3 separate regions of the Homo sapiens genome follow, and all the other regions are linked to region 3. Evidence: promoter capture Hi-C in 16 types of primary human blood cells and fetal thymus (Javierre and others, 2016). All regions are on one chromosome and are shown on one strand. Each heading gives the region's core, a stretch centred on a gene start or on the middle of the fragment in contact. The rest is flanking DNA. Distances are from core to core; before and after follow the strand shown. Region 1 overlaps CHST11 (carbohydrate sulfotransferase 11). Region 2 overlaps CHST11 (carbohydrate sulfotransferase 11). Region 3 holds the start of SLC41A2 (solute carrier family 41 member 2).

What was found. The method cuts DNA at HindIII sites, captures the fragments that hold promoters and counts their contacts. A CHiCAGO score of 5 or more calls a contact.
Region 1: a fragment that was not itself captured here is called in contact with the fragment with the promoter of SLC41A2 in region 3 in 4 of 17 cell types (naive CD8 T cells, naive B cells, total B cells and 1 more); the score reaches 6.9 in naive CD8 T cells.
Region 2: a fragment that was not itself captured here is called in contact with the fragment with the promoter of SLC41A2 in region 3 in 2 of 17 cell types (naive B cells and total B cells); the score reaches 5.7 in naive B cells.

Annotation. Positions count from the first base shown.
Region 1 is chr12:104,684,033-104,687,219 of GRCh38, reverse strand. The region is part of intron 2 of CHST11 (carbohydrate sulfotransferase 11); the gene reads right to left. Among named protein-coding and RNA genes, the nearest start is that of MIR3922, 94 kb to the right of the region's middle. The HindIII fragment of the contact is 6,908 bases long and covers 1-3,187 here.
Region 2 is chr12:104,666,535-104,669,772 of GRCh38, reverse strand. The region is part of intron 2 of CHST11 (carbohydrate sulfotransferase 11); the gene reads right to left. Among named protein-coding and RNA genes, the nearest start is that of MIR3922, 77 kb to the right of the region's middle. The HindIII fragment of the contact is 3,754 bases long and covers 1-3,238 here.
Region 3 is chr12:104,956,740-104,959,821 of GRCh38, reverse strand. SLC41A2 (solute carrier family 41 member 2) reads left to right here and starts at 1,532. Exons shown (of 11, transcript NM_001352171.3): 1 at 1,532-1,734. RefSeq lists silencers at 1,354-1,623, 1,814-2,143. The HindIII fragment of the contact is 5,296 bases long and covers 438-3,082 here.

The sequences.
Region 1 (3,187 bases), core at 97-2,596, 270 kb after region 3:
AAATAGTTCCAGAAGAGCTGGTGAGGGGCATGGGCCCTGCTGACTGCCCAGTGCAACTTCTGAATCCTAGGCCCTATTGCAACCACTCTTAGCACTTGGCAAGGCCAGAAAGGTTGCTGTGTTAACTGTAGGTTTGTGGCATCTATACAGAAGGACCATGAGCCTTGGCAGTTGGGACCTGCACAATGCTCAAACCAATCCCTGTAGAGAGAGAGAGATGCAAACTGATCCAAAATATACAATTTTAAAACAAAACAAAAAGAAACAAGAATGGCCAGGTGTGGTGGCTCACACCTGTAATCCCAGCACTTTGGGAGGCTGAGGTGGGTGGATCACCTGAGGTCAGGAGTTTGAGACCAGCCTGACCAACGTGGTGAAACCCTGCTTCTGCTAAATACAAAAAAATTAGCCAGGCGTGGTGGCGGGTGCCTGTAGTCCCAGCTACTTGGGAGGCTGAGGCAGGAGAATTGCTTGAGCCTGGGAGGCGGAGGTTACGGTGAGCTGAGATCGCGCCACTGCACTCCAGCCTGGGCAACAAGAATGAAACTCCGTCTCCAACCAAACAAACAAAACAAATAAATAAAATAAACCAGAACAACAACAAACTAAAGGCTCTACTTAGCAGTTACTTTGTAACTTTTGATACAGTAGCAGCCACAGTTGCAAATCTTGTCCAGAAGTCCTACAATTTTAAATAAATAGCCAACAGGAAGTGACACATAGTAACTGAATTTGTGTGGGCCTAGTACCAGATTCAAGTTTCTCATCCTTTATTCCAGCAATCATCAACCAACTTTCTAGTCTTTACTGTCTTCTGCACCTGAGTGAGCAGAGGACTCTCTCTCAGAGCACAGCTGTCCCACATTCTGGCACCTGGAATCAGTCAGCCAAGCGCTGGATCAGCGGCTAAGCAGCTGTCCATTAGACTCCTAGGAAAAGTCAGGTCAACCCTATGAATCACTATGTTGTCTTTTTTTTTTTTTTTTTAAGAGGTGAGTTCTCCCTTTGTGATCACGTTGAAGTGCAGTGGTGGGACCATAGTTCACTATAGCCTCCAAACTCGGGCTCCAGCGATTCTCCTGCCTCAGGCTTCTGAGTAGCTAGGACTACGGGTATGCACCACCATGCCCAGCTAATTTTTTAAAAATGTTTTCGTAGAGATGAGGGTCTCACTAAGGCTGCCTAGGCTGGTCTCAAACTCCTGGCCTCAAGTGGTCCTCCCACTTTGAACTCCTAAAGTGTTGTGATTATTGGTGTAAGCCACTGTGCCCAGCCTATAGAAATGTTTTGCACGAATTTCTGGAACCATCAGAAAACACCAGAGTCTGCCAGAGAAGTCCCCAAATAGCACAGGAATAAATGGCATAAAATATTAATAATTCATGTCTCAGCAAGGGAATAGGCAGAGAACACATGTTCAGCACCAGCAGTGCCAGGAGCTGTTATTTTGACCTAACTTGCTCCAAATGAAAGTCCAGACACAATCTCTCACACAAAATTCTTCACCGGCTCAACCATAACAAGAATAGTCCCTAATAGCATTTATTAAGTGCTATTATGTGCCAAGCACCCCACATACATTAAACATATAATCCTCACAGTAGTCCTACAGGCAAGTGTTCATCTAGGTGATGGAAATGGAGCTCAACTAGGCTGAGAGACTTGCCTGAGGTCACACATTTAATGAGTATTTGAATCCCTGGTCGCCAACCCATACATTATGTCTTAATGATGAATATTCAAAAATGGAGAAAAGGTGTTCAAAATTTATCATTGGTATAAATCATGGTATAACTTTTCTCAATAAAAAGCACCTGTGTAACTTGAGATGAGCATCTGCATTAAAAGTCATAAAATAAGTTTAGGTTTCTTATACCAAACAACCTAATTTGCTTATATATAAATATCAAGGGATAGAAGAGCAGAATTTCAAGCCAAATTGAATAAAAAGCATGCAGTAACATCGCACCTCAGCCCTCTCAGGAGGCTATATATTAAGATTTTTTTAGGCCTTACACCTAATGCTTCTGGAGCAATGAGACAGATGAGGTTTTGCAGATTTACTTCAGCATAAATTAATGCTAACCATCTGGATGGATAAGATAACCAAATAGCCATAAAATCTTGGCAACCTCCAATGTAAGAAAAATTGCTTGGGAGCTGAGAGGAGGAACAAAATCCATGCAGAGTTTGTTGGAGGAATGCCAAAGTGATCATAGAGTTTACTAAGATTTTGACTTACTCTTGCACTTTAATCATAATATATTTGCAGCATGGGGGATTAGAGGCAGTCTTTGGAGGGAAGAGGTTGCATAGAAAATAATTCCTTATAGCTGCAGAGCACCTTGACTGAACAAAGGTGTTTTGGGGCTGGGTGTGGTGGTGGCTCATGCCTGTAATCCCAGCACTTTGGGAGGCCGAGGCGGGCAGACCACTTGAGGTCAGGAGTTCGAGACTAGACTGGTCAACATGGTGAAACCCTGTCTCTACTAAAAATACAAAAAATTAGCCAGGCATGGTAGTGCATGCCTGTAATCCCAGCTACTTGTGAAGCTGAGGCAGGAGAATCACTTGAACCTGGGAGGCAGAGGTTGCAGTCAGCTGAGATCGCGCTACTGCACTCCAGCCTGGGTAACAGAGTGAGACTCCGTCTCTAACAAAACCAAACCAAACCAAACCAAACCATATCAAACAAAACAAAGGTGTCTTGGCTTTCAGTTTGAGCTTTCTAATAGCCTTTGGAGCCATGGAGGGGCAGGGTGTACCATCCCCTTTTTACAGATGATAGAGTTGGGCTCAAAGAAGCTGAGTAGCTCTGCCATTCAAGGCCAATGCTCTTTTCACCACCCTGTGTAGATGTCCTCTCATCCATCCACCTATCTGTCCATCTATCCATCCACTCACTCACCCATCTATCCATCCATCCATCCATCCATCCATCCATCCATCCATCCATCCATCCACATTTTGTACCAATTCCTATTTATTCTGTAATCCTTCAAGAAGGAAGGAAAGGAAAGCCAGTCCTTTGGGGGAAGAGCCACACCCATGCGTCTACGCACAGTTTTGCAAGAGGAGTCCTTTCTCATAAATAATGCCACCATCTTGGGGATCTGGAGCTCTGCCCCGCTGCTAGTTCTGCCGCATCTCCTCGCTCCTCCCTCATTTCCACTGCTGACTATTCTGC
Region 2 (3,238 bases), core at 353-2,852, 290 kb after region 3:
GTCATCATACCCATTTAACAGATGAAAAACTGTGTTCTGGAGAAGCTGAGAACGGTGTCCAGGGTCACACAGCTAATTTGCAGGGCGCAGCTTGACCTTGGGTCAGCCTGGATCCCAAAGCCAGGCTCTCTGACCTCGTTTACTGCGCATGAGTTAGAAACACAGTCCACTGCAGAAAGGGGGAGCACTCTACAAACACAATGTAGGCCTGGAGCAGGGAGATGCCCAATTAACGTTTATGAATGAACAAAACCTCAGCGAATGCACCCAGGTCTGGAGGCCTGCATTCAGAATCCGGCCTCGGGGACAGTGGAAAGACCTAGAAGCATCCCTTTTCAAGGGGGAAAAAAAATCATTTGCACCATTTCTGAGAGCTGCAGGGGGAATGGATTCAAAACAAGCAAAGCTCTCCAAATAGCGATAAATACCTTAAATTACCCAGCAAGTTTAAAAGCCTTCATGCTGCTCTTTTTCCCAGTGCAGAACAGGCTCCTGATTGTGGCTGTTTAGAATGGAACATTCAGGAGGGCGTGGAGCTGGCGGGGCAGGAGAAGGGGAGGGGAGTGTGAGGAGGGGAGGAAAAACGCTCTGGCTGCCCGGGAACATTCACCCAGCTGGCTGGCAGGAGACACAGCGGGCGATTGTGCGAGCCTGTGCTTGCAGAGGGGTGCGTACGTCTAACGCACGCTGCAGTGGGGACTTCCTCAGTGCCTGGGGGCCGTGTTCCTTGCCCACAGAAATGGGGAGAAAGAAATGTCAGGGCTAATGTGGCTTCTCAAGGAGGCCTTCATTTCTGGAACCCAGAGTTGCCTGGGGGCCGTGTTCCTTGCCCACAGAAATGGGGAGAAAGAAATGTCAGGGTTAATGTGGCTTCTCAAGGAGGCCTTCATTTCTGGAACCCAGAGTTGCCTGGGTCTTCTCTGTGTTCTTACAGGAAAACAACTGTATTGGTTCCAAAGAGAACAGTTTGCTGAGGGCTGTGACTATCAGAATCTCATTCCCTCCAAATAGCAAGAGTCTGGGGTTTCTCCCTCTTCCGCCATGACCCATACATCTATGGGGGTTGCTGCCATCGGACAGACTGGTATGAATTAGTGCTATCCACCCGGGGGGATAATAAACGTCGGAACTAGGGGACGATAAATGTTCACAGGCAAGACAGCTGGAAAGACCTGGAATGCCTCTTCCCTTCTGCACAACACAGCTAATCTCCAGCCCCAGATAAGATAAACATGCTTTATGGGGACTGTATTCAGTTGCCCACTTGTGTGGTCAGCTGCAGCTCAGGGAGCTGCACTCACAAGTCCTTCAGCTGACCCAGCTGACGTCCCAACGCAGTGTGTTCTGTGTTGTCATGGTGTCTCGGGAGTGGGTTTAACACCCGTGACCTTAGAGGAGTTACAGAGATGCTCCACATACGGAAACTGGATAATGACATAATCTACTACCCAGGGTTGTTCTGGAGAGTGAGTTAACATGTATCATGTGCTCACCGCTTCCTGGGGGCTTCCTTTGTGGCAGGCACTTTTTAATATAAGACTTGGCATGGATAATCTCATTTAGTCCCTATATGACCCTATGAGGGGTGCTCATAAATACTGTCCTCACTTTCTTATTGTGTAAACTGACTTCCAGGGAAGTTAAGTCGTTAGCTCAAGGTCACACAGCCAGGGTATATGGTGTGGGGGTAAGCCAGGGGTGGTACCGGGATTGGAACCCAAGTATTCTTACTCCAGCTTCTGTGGGTTGGCTCTACTGGCTAGACTCCCTCCTAAAGACAAAACCCCATGAATCCAGTTCCTTTAGAATTAGTGGTTTCAATCCTGACTAGGCACACAAATCATCTCTGAGGATTTTAAAAACCATGAACTCATGGGTGCATACCCCTAGAGATTCTGATTCCGTGGGTCTGGGTGTCTAAGGTGTTTGAAAGCTCGCCAGGTGCTTTGGATGTGCAGCTGCAATAACCAGCATCACCAGAGACCTTAGGTGGTGCTAAGAAGCTGACAGGCAGCATCTCATTCCATCCTCACAACCAGCCTGAGGTAGGTCCATGACTTGCTTGCTTTACCGATGAGGAAACTGAGGCCCAGAGGAATTCATAGCTCCCCTAAGGTCATGAAATGAGCAGAAAGCAGAGTCTGGATGCATGCGGAAGTCCTAGCTCCAACACTGGATGGAAATGCAGATGAAAAAGTTAGGACCACTCGTCTAAAACCATCCTGTGTCCACTTGGCTCCTTCCCAAATGACGGCCAAAATTCTGTCCCTGATTGAGATGCAAGGTAAGGACTGGGATGAAACTCCAAAAGCTGGAGTTTTAAGGAACATATATGTTGTCATCCAATGACATTTATCTGGAGCCGGATCAGTATCTAGCAAAACCAAGGCTAGATTGCACAACCTTGGTGTGTAATCTGGAACACACAGTGAGCTGAGTGAGGCTGGACGACTTTCATTTCTCATTACCAGAAGCGTGGTGGGGGAATAAGGACACCTGTAGGTCTCCGTGGTGCCAAAGTGCTGTCAACTTCTAATGAGACGGCCTGGAAGAATCTTAAAAGTTTGCAGTCAATAGCTCAGGCCAAATGACTGTTAAAAACCAGACTCTGCTGGACCAAATTCACGGAACTGAATAATTCTTGTGGACAGGGTCAGGGTCACTTACCTCTCAAAATAACTTCGTATCATTTAACATAAGTTCTGTCAATGAAAATGAATGACTATGTTCATGAAGAACTATCAGGTCAACTGGAATGTTCTGCTCAACAAGCGTTTTAAAGGTACCTCCTATTTGCCAGGCCCCATGCCATACACTGGCAGGAGTGTGATGCAGACAGAGTCCTGGCCAGCTACCCTGGGCATAGTTTTGGGGGATGGCAAGGGGCAACGACTTATCTGTTCTGGCTCACTCCAGACCCCACCGCACACGGTACTGTAGAACGGTGAAAAAAGGGGTTATCAGACCTTGCCCCGCCTCTCTGATGAGGTACCTGATCCCAGCTCTACTGTTCCACACAGGACTTCCCTAGCTTCTCCTTCTCTCCCTTCCCTTTCCTTCCATCTTTTTTCAATCAGGAAACATTTGTTGGCCATCCACTGTATTTCAGAGTAAATCTGTATTTCAGGCATGTGGAGCCTTGGATACTGAATTTGAATACCAATGCAGCAGGACACTGGTATTATTCCATCCCATTTTATTCTTCCATCATCGCACCCTCTAGAATTCAACACGCAGA
Region 3 (3,082 bases), core at 283-2,782:
ACAGGCTGGCTTCTGTATATGCTTTGTGTAGAAATCTTGAAAGACTACACACTCAGGGGAGGAACACATATTGGGTGGAACTTCTGCCAAACTTTCAAGAGCAGCTACTTTCTAATGATCTGTAATTCAAAAAACAACCAGAACAAAAACCAGCTGGAAATGCAGTCAAAACACTGCTTTTCCATATTCCTTGCAATTATACTTTCATTTTTAGGTGGTGAGGAACACCAGGATGAGTCATTATAAAAAGCATGACTGCAGATGGCCAAGAGTGATACCGAAGCACCCTTCACCCTGAAGGTTAAGGTTAAAGCTCAAAGTCTGATCGCAAAGCATAAGGAAAAAAAAAAAGAACATGGATAAATGTATGCTGGTGTCCTTCAGCACCAGAAAAGCTGCTACTAAATCACTGGTGTGGCTTGGAATTGGTAGAAGCTTTGATTTGAGGAAAAGAGTATCATTAGCTGTGTAATTTTGAGTTGTTGTTTTAGAGACAAGGTCTCATTTTGTGGCCCAGACTGGAGTGCAGTGATGCGATCATAGCCCGCTGCAGCCTTGAACTCCTGGGCTCAGGCGATCCTCCCACCTCAGTCTCCTAGCCACTCCAGGTCTCGCTGTGTTTGCCCAGGCTGGTCTCAAATTCCTGGCCTCAAGCGATCCTCTCGCCTGGTCCTCCCGAAGTGTTGAGGTTACACGCATGAGCCACCAATCCTGGCATTATGGCATTAGCTGTGTAATTTTTAAAATAACTGTCTTCGGACCAACACCTTTCTTTTGTTCACTGGAGTATCCCTGGGGTGTGTCTCATTCCCTGAATCATACACAGTAGATGCTCAATAGTTTTGTAAATAAAATAAATGAGCTCTCGGATTTACATGCAGACTTTGGATCAGTTTGATCTAGGTTTAAAAGCAAGTGTGGGGAAACTTGAAAAGCCTGGCACCCCAGCCAACTCTTCAGCGCCCCATGCGCTTGGCGCCTACACCTGCCTGGCACGGGGAGGGTGCTATGGGGCTGCCCTAAACCTCACCCCCTCCTGCGGTGGTTCCTGCCCGTCTCGGCTCCTGCACCGCCCACACTATGCGCTGCTGGGCCGAAAGACACGTGGTTCGGTTTTAACTCCAGTCTGCAAGAAACATGACCTCAGCCAAAAAGAGGCCGCTGGTCTGAGAAGAGAAATCATGAGTCATGGATTCGGGGGTTCGGACCTTGGAGCAGGCGGTGAAGTGGGCGTGCGTGGGCTGGTGGGGAAGAGGGATGCCGAAGGAGGCCACAGCCCTTCTCTCCTGGGCAGGCTCCCCAGAAAACTGCCCCCTTGCCGTCATCCAGCGCCCCCGTTCCCGACAGCTGTCTGCCAGGGCGCGGCCGGGGTCCGGGCGGGGCGGTGCTGTCGCTCCGGGTCGCCGCCCCGCGGGCCACATCACCAAGGCCCGGGCTTCCCCGGCGGCGGCGCGGCTGCGCTTGCGCGGGGCTGCCGCGCGGGGGCGGGGCGGCGGGGAGTCAGGGGGCCGCGGGCGCCGACGGCCGGGCTGTCAGCTTGGGGCCGCAGCCGCGCGAGGAGGCGCGGGAGCAGGAAGGAGCTGTGGGCTGGGAGCCGCTGTCCTCCCCGCCACCACCGGTGCCGGGCACCAGGTGAATGCCCCTTCCATCCCCCGCCCCTGGTGTCTCGGTCTGGTCTGAGGAGACGGGGACCCTTCTCACACCGGCCGCTGCCGCCGCCGCGCTCCGGAACAGGTGACCATGGAGGGGAAGTCTCGGCTTCGGCCGCGGCGCCGCGTTCGGGCGCATCAGGTGCGGGAGGGAGGTGGGGCCGAGAGGCCTGGGCTCGGGACCCGGCGGCGGGGGCGCGGGGAGCAGAGGGAGCGGCCCCGCCCGAGCAGCCGTGCCCCCTGCGGACGCCTCTCCGGGCCGCCGGGCAGCGCCCGAGCCCAGGCCCCCGCGCCTGCCCCACCTCGGGCTGAGGGAAGCTGTTCCGCGGCCACCGCGGACAAGCGGTCCCGGGCGCCCAAGGCAGGGACAGGCGGCGGGTGGTGTATGAGTGATGGCTGAAGGTGAGCTGGGATGGAGATGCTGCGAGGCTGGCTCGGGCACACCCCAGATGCCTGTTCAGGGCTCCGCGAGTGCCCCGTCACCCTTTTCTTTCATTCTTCTCTTTATATACACGGAGCATATCTCAAATTTAAAAGCCCAAATGCTCATTTACAGAGAGAGATGACACATATCTATGTGTTACCGATATACATTGATGTGTATATTACGTATATATGTCATCTTTTTTTTGTAGTGACAATTTTTAAATTGAGATATACATCACATGCCATAAAACTCATTCTTCTAAAGTGTGGCTTTTAATATATTCACAGAGTTTTCCAAATATGACCACTATCCAGATCATCATCCCCAAAAGAAACCCTGTCTCTCTTAGTAATCACTCCTCATTTCCCCTTGACCCCACCCCACTAGCCACCACTAATCTACTTTCTGTTTATATGGGTTTGCCTGTTGTGGAAATCTCATATAAATGGAAGCGTACAATATGTGGCTTTTTGTGTCTGGCGTCGAAAGACATACTGTAATGTTTTCAAGTTTCACTCATGTAGTATGTATCAGTACTTTACTTTTTATAGCATATTAATATTGTTGTATCAGTGTACCACATTTGTTTATTCATCAGTTGATGTACATTTGGGTTGTTTCCAGTTTTTGGCCATTGTGTGTAATGCTGCTATGCACATTTGTTTACACGTTTTTGTGGACATGTGTTTTCAGTGCTCTTGGGTATATACCTAGGAGGGCAATTGCTCCGTGTTTCACTTTTTGAGGAACTGCCAAGCAAAGCAGCTGTACCATTTTACTTTCCCACTAAGCAGTGTATGAGGGTTCCGATTTCTTCACATCTTCCCCAAGGCTTGTTACTTTTTTACTGGTTATTTTTTATGATAGCCATCGTAGTGAGTGTGGAATGGTATCTCTTTGTGGTTTTGATTTGCATTTCTCTAATGATTGGGGATGCTGAGCATCTTTTCATGTGCTTATTGGCCATTCATATATTTTCTTTGGAGAAAATGTTCATATCTTTTAC